Linked DNA regions of Homo sapiens: region 1 is linked to region 2. Evidence: promoter capture Hi-C in human tissues and cell types (Jung and others, 2019). All regions are on one chromosome and are shown on one strand. Each heading gives the region's core, a stretch centred on a gene start or on the middle of the fragment in contact. The rest is flanking DNA. Distances are from core to core; before and after follow the strand shown. Region 1 overlaps SMYD3 (SET and MYND domain containing 3). Region 2 holds the start of KIF26B (kinesin family member 26B).

The links. The method cuts DNA at HindIII sites, captures the fragments that hold promoters and counts their contacts. A contact is called where the count stands out against the background at its distance.
Region 1: a contact is called between a fragment that was not itself captured here and the fragment with the promoter of KIF26B in region 2, in 2 of the 25 tissues and cell types used here (dorsolateral prefrontal cortex and hippocampus).

Annotation. Positions count from the first base shown.
Region 1 is chr1:246,153,800-246,157,982 of GRCh38, forward strand. All of the region lies in intron 5 of SMYD3 (SET and MYND domain containing 3), which reads right to left. Among named protein-coding and RNA genes, the nearest start is that of SMYD3-AS1, 47 kb to the left of the region's middle. The HindIII fragment of the contact is 3,034 bases long and covers 900-3,933 here.
Region 2 is chr1:245,153,225-245,157,611 of GRCh38, forward strand. It overlaps KIF26B (kinesin family member 26B), which reads left to right and starts at 1,761. Exons shown (of 15, transcript NM_018012.4): 1 at 1,761-2,263; 2 at 3,058-3,459. The coding sequence starts at 2,201. RefSeq lists enhancers at 1-572, 573-1,248 and silencers at 1,103-1,302, 3,170-3,709. The HindIII fragment of the contact is 11,465 bases long and covers 1-4,387 here.

The DNA.
Region 1 (4,183 bases), core at 1,167-3,666, 1.0 Mb after region 2:
TTAACCTCATTCACCTCTAGCTACAACACTTTATTTATCCCTTAATAGCCAGGTTGCTAGAAAAAAAACCCTTTATACTTGCTATCATCTCCATTTCCCCAAATTTCCAACCTCTCATAATATGTACTGTGACATCATTAGGCACTAAATCTACCCTTGCTTTGGGTGGGTTCTAATGACCTCTTAAATGCAAAGTGCAGAAGACTTTAATCCTTTCTGCTTACTGCCCCATACATGAGTCACTCCCTCTTCTACATTACTGTGGCCTCATTACACTGCAAGTTTACTAAAGGCAATCCATCAATCAATCTGGCATAGCTTTGGCTATATCCACTCATGTGGTATTGCACGCAGCCTACATTCACTGAACGAATCAATGGAAATAATAAGGGCCTTAAAGGCTCCGATGGCTTCATTGTGCCATCCGCTCTGCTTCTATCGCTACTAACTATGGAAAAAGTTAACATTTCTCTTACTAAGTGAATGATACCTTTGGCAAAGTAAGATATAAAAGGTGTAATGTTCTAGCTGATCCTGCTCCATACAGCTCCAGGTAAGTAATCTGCCCCAGTGAGAGATCTGTTTATACCGGCAAAGTGCTTCAGGGCTTAAGTCTTCAGAATTTGACCCCCGCTCACGGCACAGAAGGATGCCCAGGACACACTATAAAGCTATTAGAAATTGAAACCAATAGCCCTCCTAGTTTCTTTTAATAGACTTTCAGATGCAGTGTTTTCTGCTTTCCTTTAAAAACAGTAGAATAGTAATTAACATTTAGTAATTTTCAAAGCAGTTGTGCAGGAAGATTTCCTGAACTATGAAAGCCCACAAATTTGGCAACAAGAAGTATCACAACAGAGAAACAGCTCTTGGTTTATTGTTCATTGTTCCCCACACTTAGTTAATGTGTTACAATGACAATGTATGAAATACATGAAGTTACCATCAAAACAAACAATGTTTTTTTTTTGTTTTGTTTTTTGTTTTTTGTTTTTTTTTTGAGATGGAGTCTCACTCTGTCGCCCAGGCTGGAGTGCACTGGTGCAATTTTGGCTCACTCTAAGCTCCGCCTCCCGGGTTCATGTGATTCTCCTGCCTCAGCTTCATAAGAAGCTGGGACTACAGGCGCCTACCACCACGCCTGGCTAATTTTTTGTATTTTTAGTAGAGACAGGGTTTCACCGTGTTAGCCAGGATGGTCTCGAGCTCCTGACCTTGTGATCTGCCCGCCTCGGCCTCCCAAAGTGCTGGGATTACAGGCATGAGCCACCGTGCCTGGCCCAAAACAAACAGTATATTAAACAAGAAAAATGAATTTATGAATTAGCTTTCTTCCCTCCCAAACTCCCTTACTCTACACAAGTCATTCCTGATGGAGAGATTGAAATAAAATGAGAAATTTAATAATGAATAATAGTAATACTATTACTAATAATTCCAGCAATTATACTGGTATTACTTTAAAAAGAAAAAAATATTGCTTAATCTTTAGCTTTTGCTCCACAGCAAATTCCAATTCTTTCAGGACACAGCCAAGAGAAAGCAGATAATGTTCGTCCCTTATTTCCATACGTTTCTTGTTTCAAAATGGCAACCCAAAAGGAATACTCCACTGATTGTTTGTAGATATGCTGATTAAAGAAAAATATAAAATTTCAAGCCCATCAACCAGTGCTGCTCTATAATAATCAAAAACTACCTTTACAATAAAAGGTTATCAAACCAAACAGTCTGATCATCACATAATTTCTCATGAAAGCTGAAAAGGAAATACAATCATTCACTTATTGGTTCATCTTTCACCAAACACTTATTGTACTAAATGCTGGCAATACAGAAGTGAAGATCTGCTTCATGCCCTAAAGATGCTCATAGTTAGCACCAAGAACTACACATCTCGCCAGGTACAGGGGCTCGTGCCTGTAATCCCGGCACTTTGGGAGGCCGAGGCAGGTGGATCACTTGAGGTCAGGAGTTCGAGACCAGCCTGGCCAATATGGGAAAATCCCATCTCTACTAAAAATAAAAAATAAAAAAAAATAGCCTAGTGTGGTGGCACGCACCTGTAGTCCTGGCTACTCAGAGGCTGAGGCAGGAGAATCGCTTGAATCTCAGAGGCTGAGGTTGCAATGAGCCAAGATTGTGCCACTGTACTCCAGCCTGGGTGACAGAGCGAGACTATGTCTTCAAAAAAAAAAAAATATATCGACCTCTAAGAATCACATTTATCTTGAGCTACAGAGTTCGAAGGACAGAATTTTTTTTTTTCAATTAATGTTAAGGTCTGGAAGTTTGACTTTGGCTCTTAACCTTTGGCTCACATACCTAATTTGGTTACTATGTGTTTACTACATGCAAAAAGACTTCCTTGGGCCTATGAATCATTTCTAGTAAATGGAGCTAATAATAACTTTCCATCAGAAAGCTCTTTGTCCCATTTTTGTATCAGAAATGGGCAAGAAAAAAGTGAAACAAAATAAAACAACAACGTGAAGATTTTTTTAAATCCTGCCCCTGGGATGTTGATGAGGGCAGAGACAAGCAATTTACCTGCACACAAAATTAAGTTTTTTAAATAATTTAGATTCTAAAGAAAGGAACTTTTAGAATGACATCTGCTAATACTCTAAAGCTTATAACTCTGAGTTATTGGGAAGGTAAGAACATATTTTCCCCATAAAAATAAGTTCTATATCATGGTTATGATCCAAGGTGAACTCACAGAAACCTACTTTCTTTGGTTCCTTCAATAAACATTAAAAGCCTGTTATTTGTGAGGCACTATGCCAACCATTAGGGATATAAAACCAAATAGGACTCAGTCTCTGCCCACAGGAGCTTAAGAGTCTAGTGGAGGAAACTAAATTAACATTTGCAAGAAATGCTGTGTTTCCTAAAATATCTACAAGGTGTTTTGGGGAGCAAAGAAAACGGGCACCTTAATCAGACTACGAAAGGGAGAGTCACAGAATGCTTTCCCTTAAGAGGTCATATTTGAGCTGAATTTGAAGGCTGATGAGGAATTACCTACACTAAAAAGGAAATCACAGGTAAAAAGGTCGAACAAACCGTATTTAGTGATTTGCTGAATCATGGAGGTGGGTGACACAAAGGACCCTAGAATGACTCAGGTGTCTGGTTTGGATAAACAATCCAACGTAGGCACCATTCACAAAGAAAGGGATGCTAGGAGGTACGAGGGCAAAGATGAAAAGGTCATACGCAGACCGCAAAGCTTAAACCTTCGCCTCACATCTGTTTGGAACAGCAGTAGCTTTTTACTTAGCGCTTACATCACCAAAGCCAATGAGTAGCGAAGTCTGGGACGAGGACAAGAGCTGCCCTTGGCATCACTGCCTGTCACCTGTCCCTTCGGGGCGCCCCCTGCCTCCACTGCTTGGCCTCTGTTTGTAGCTTGTGTTTTGGCCTTGCCAGCAAGTGTCCTTCAGGGAGGTCTGGCTACTCACAGTTTATAGATGAGAACACTGAGGCAGAGCGATAATTAACTCGACAAGAGAAAACAACCAGCAAATGGCCCTCTTGTCCCAGAGCCCACGTTCTTCACCAGAACACTGCCTAGTTTAAGAAACAGCAGCAATTCTGTTTCTTATAAACTCATGAGCTTCCCAAAGACAGGCTCTCATCCGGTCAGGCATCATGGGTGGATCATCAAGCAAACAGATGCCAACAGACATTCCCTCCCAAGTTATTCCTTTTAATCCTGTCCTTTGTCAGATGCAAAAGGCCTAATTCAATACTGGAATTCCTCTATATCCATTATCAGGTCACCTGGATAGCCTGTCCTAAAAGAATGAAGTCCCTCCTTGCCACAACAATAAGCTTTGTCTTTTTTCCCCCCCATAGGTCAGCTTCCTTCTTTTATATTCTGCTACAATCTGTTGTTGTGGTTAATTACACAAGAGACTAGCATGGGTGTGTCAATCCCTAGTGGAACTGCGTTGAGAATCTGCAAACCAGACCATATATTATGGGGCTTCCAAATTTTCAAGTGCCACAGAATCGCAAGCTTCTGATCACTGCATTAAGGATCTAGACCTGTGGTTCAGATGAGAGATGAGCTTCATAAAGAAGTATGTTGCCAGTGAGACCCCACTAGGTTGAAGATTGCAGGAAGCTGAGATGCTTAAATTATTCTAATTAATGGGCTTATTCCCCACTGGTT
Region 2 (4,387 bases), core at 511-3,010:
CAGAGCAGCTCTGGGCTCCCCCGTCTCCGAGGTGGATCGCGCAGCTCCCCAACACTCCCCCTCGACACCCCACCTTCCCCACCCGCGGCCTCGCCGGCTCGTTTCACCACACGCTGCTTTTTGGCTGATAAGCGGCTCGTGGCCAATGGCGATGATGTGTTTCGCGGCACCTACGCGAAATACAGATGCGGGTGGGAGCTGGCGCGTGCTGCCTGGAGGTGTACCTGCCCCCTAAGGTCCCCTATTGATAGGATCGCTTTTAAATTGGAAGTGGGAACGTAACGGAAACGTCCACTCTGTTCTTGCCATCTTCCTTTTGACCTTTTTACCTCGCTTTGGTGGCTGTGAAATATTCCCGCGCAGGAGCTGGAGCGGGGAGGAGTGGGGCAGAGCACGGGAGGCACAGAAGAAATTGTCCCCGAGGAAGGCAGAGTGGGGGCGTGGCCCCAGGCTTCCAGAACCCCGAACCTTTGTCTTCTTGCCCCCTCCTGCGTCGTCCACAGCTCAGAAGGAAGTCAGCGACCAGAAAGCCCTGAACGTCCTTCGCGCCCTCGCCCACCCCCGGGCTGGGTCTCCCCGCGGGCGCGGAGATGCCGTTACACCCCACGTGATCCCTGCGCCCGGCCAGTCCTTCCAGAGGCGTCTCGCGGGGTGTTAATTAAAGGTCACAACAAAACAGACCTGCTGGCTCACCAGAAGAAATGTCCTCCCGTGAAATGAAAAATGACACCCCAGAGCAGCCACGTGTGGAGCCTGGCATACGCCGGCTTCCTGCGCTCCTGGGCGCTGCGCCGGGGGACTGGGGCGGGGGGCGATCGGAGAGGGAGCGATGACGGGGTGCTCCGGAGACCCCGCGGGGCCCAGGCGCAGGAAGAAACGGGCGGCGGGGGGCGAGGGGCCCGATCCCACGCAAGGAGAGGCCAAGGCCAGCTCGCGCCACACCCCCTCTCCAGGCCAGAGTCGTCCGCGTGCAGCGCGGCGAAGCCCTCAGTTTCCCCTGCCCGGCAGCGGCCCGCTGGGTCACCAGGCTCACCTGTCCCAGCCCCGGGCGGCTTAGTCCATCACAGACCGGGGCTCGGGCGGGCGGGGGACCAAGGGCCCTAGTCCTGCGGCTGCGGTCGGGGAGGGTGGCCCCCCGGCCGGCCCGGGGTCGGTAGGGCAATTCCAGAAAAGGTTTGCCCGGCAGCTCTCCGAGAACAAAGGGCGGGGGGAGGACCCGGCATGTTTGTGGACTTGTTTGTGACTCAATCCCTTTTGCACGGCGTTTCACAGACAGACCTGCAAGCCTTGTCAGGAAGAGAAAGAACTTGGGGGCGGGGGAGGCTGGGGCACCGCATTTCCGTCCAGCCACGCTCGCTCGCGCGGCCCCCGGGCTCCAGGCTCGCGCAGCGGCGTTTCATTAGAGCCCCGGGCCCGGGCCGCGCGCCAGGAACTTCCCCGCACGCGGCGAGATCGACGATCCCCCGCCCCCAGCCCCAGCCCGGCTCCAGGCCTCGCAATGTCAGGCACGAGCGCCGCCACATAAAATGGATCCCGGCCGGCGCGGCGAGGGCGGCAGGTTCCCGAGGCTCCTCCGCGCTGCGCCCGGGCGCACACGCGCGCTGTGACCGCCGACCGCTCCCGGGCCACGCGGAGCCGCCCCTCTCCCGGCCCTCGCGCAACTGTCAGGCGAAACGGGCCGGCGGATATTGGCTCGGCGACACGCCGAGGCTCCTCCCCGAGTCTGGATCTTTATATTTTGGGAGAATTTCTTTGAACTCAGTTACCAAGCTCGGTGAAGGAGACAAGTTCCCACAGCTGACTCGGCTCGGCTCTCCCACCTTCCCGGCAGCGGCCGCGAGCCCTGATTGTATCCCTCGCTTTCCTCGTGGGGGAGCACGGACTGACTTGGCTGAAGAAAATGCCAGTTCTGTGGATGTGGCCGTGACAAGAGGACGTGCGGCTGGAAGAGGCAGAAGGGGACGAGGAAAAGCATGCTTTGAAGAGAAGAATAAACCAGCGACCCCAACCCTTTCTGCAAATTGGTGCTATTACTTGTGGGATCCATTTGCTTTCATTCCCTCCCACCCCACCGCTGAAGAAACCTTGCCCTGAGGGCTGAGAGCCAGCCCCCTGCAGCCGGGGGACGCTTCTGGGTTGGAGGACCTTCTGGATGTAGCGTCGGTGGAACCTTTAGATACTCTCCTCTGGAAAAGCCACCATGAATTCGGTAGCTGGGAATAAAGAGAGGCTTGCGGTCTCCACCAGGGGCAAGAAATACGGGGTAAGTTGTGACGGTACGACGCGGAGACGCGTTACCAGACCCATCTCGGCGGAGGTCCCCCTTTCCCCGGGATCGTGCGGCCCCGGCCCCGAGCTCTCCCCCGCTGCAGAGGCGCCCCCGGGGCTGGCGGGGTTGTGAGTGCGCGGAGGCGGGTCGGCCGCGGGGACGCCCGCACGCTCGCCTCGCTCTCGGAATTTTTTCAGCCCTCTCGTTCCTTCCTTTCCACGCACCCGTAACTTTTGCCGCATTCCTGCACTTCTAGGCAGAGTGAAGCCGAAGGGGAGGGTTTCCCATGAATGCTGGGCAGTACCTCGGATCGTTTAGCTGGAGCCGTGAGAGCCTCTCGTTTACCTGCAGGATCCGGAGAGTTGGACCCCGTATGAATAAAAATCCTGAAATCACAGCCCTCCCCCTACCCCCCCCATAGGGTCTTCCAGGATTTTGTTCCCGGGATCTTGCTGGGATAGGTGCCGGCTTCAAAAGCGTGGGGCGCTGAACCTATGGATCCCCCCCGCCTTGCAGAAGCCGTGGAAACGGCCCCGAGCGAGTCCCCTTCCTGACCCCAGGAGGAGGCCACCGGGGACCAGCGCAGGGGTCACCTGGGCGGTGGGGACTCACTTAAGGACAATTAACGAGACAGACGGAGGGCAATTTGGCCGCAGGGCTTGGAGAGGTCCCCAACCGACTCCCGTGGGCGGTTCGAGCGGGTACTTGGTGGCGCACGTATGACCCAGCTCCTGGGCGCTGCAGCCCGCCGCCTTGCAGCCCCTGACACCGGCGTGTCTTCCCCGCAGGTGAATGAAGTCTGCTCGCCCACCAAGCCCGCAGCGCCCTTCTCCCCGGAAAGCTGGTACCGGAAAGCATACGAGGAGTCGCGCGCCGGCAGCCGGCCCACTCCTGAGGGCGCGGGCTCAGCGCTCGGCTCCTCGGGGACCCCGTCTCCCGGCTCGGGCACCTCGTCCCCGAGCTCGTTCACCGGCTCCCCGGGACCCGCCTCCCCCGGCATCGGCACTAGTTCGCCGGGCTCCTTGGGCGGCTCTCCGGGCTTCGGCACAGGCTCCCCGGGCTCCGGCAGCGGCGGCGGCTCCTCCCCCGGCTCGGACCGCGGCGTCTGGTGCGAGAACTGCAACGCCCGCCTGGTGGAGCTCAAGAGGCAGGCCCTGAGGTTGCTCCTCCCGGGGCCCTTCCCGGGCAAGGTGAGCGCCGCGCGGGGCTGGCTGGGGAGGCGCCGGGAGGGCGGGGCCGGGCCGCCACCCACAGCAGCTGCTCAGCCCGCCGCGACCTTGCGCGCCGGCTCCACGCGAGAGCCCCCGGCGGCGCTGGGGATGCTCCACACCTCACGGGGCTCTAGCACGCGGGGCGACCCATGCCCCTTCCTCAGCCAGGCCGCCCGGGGGGCAGGAGGACCGAGTCCCGAGCGCGAAGGGGCGCCCGTGGCCACAGGCCTCACGGCCCACGGGGGAGGCCCCCAGGTGGTCTCTCCTGCCGCCCCCTCCCAGCTCTCCCTGGCGGCTGCAGGCTGCGCTTTCGATGTTTCTCCCCACCCCCACCTGTGATCCTTTACAAAAATGTCAGCGGGAGCTGTAAAAGCAAGCTGATGCTCGGAGCTGGCATTTCCCACTGCCTGTTTGTGGTCCATCCTTTCCGCGGTTGCAGAAACAGAAACATACTCGAAAGCCAGCATTTTCCCCTTCTCAGTCTGTGTGTGTGTCTGAGGAAGATCCGGAGGCGGGTGGCTCTTCGGAGCAGTGCTCCCTCCTGGCCTGCTCCTGCGCCAAGCACACTGGTTCCTCCATAGCAACCCTGCCCGCAGTGTGTGACTGGCCCGAGCCCCCAGGGGATAGCAATGCGATTGTATTTGCACTGTTGGGTCCAAGTACTATCAAATGATCATATTTACTCGGCCACTTCAAAGAGTTTTTATCAGTGGTTAGAGAGCAATATCAAGGAAATAGAGTGGATTGCTGTAGAGGTTTTTGACACTGTTGGTTCAACGTCAATTTCTGGTTTATTATTTCCGTGACTTTAGAAATGAAATACTGTGATTTCGAGTAGGCGTTTAGGAATGACTGCGTCTGCTGGCCCAACCTGCGTATGCAGATACACACGTTGATGTTTTCATAG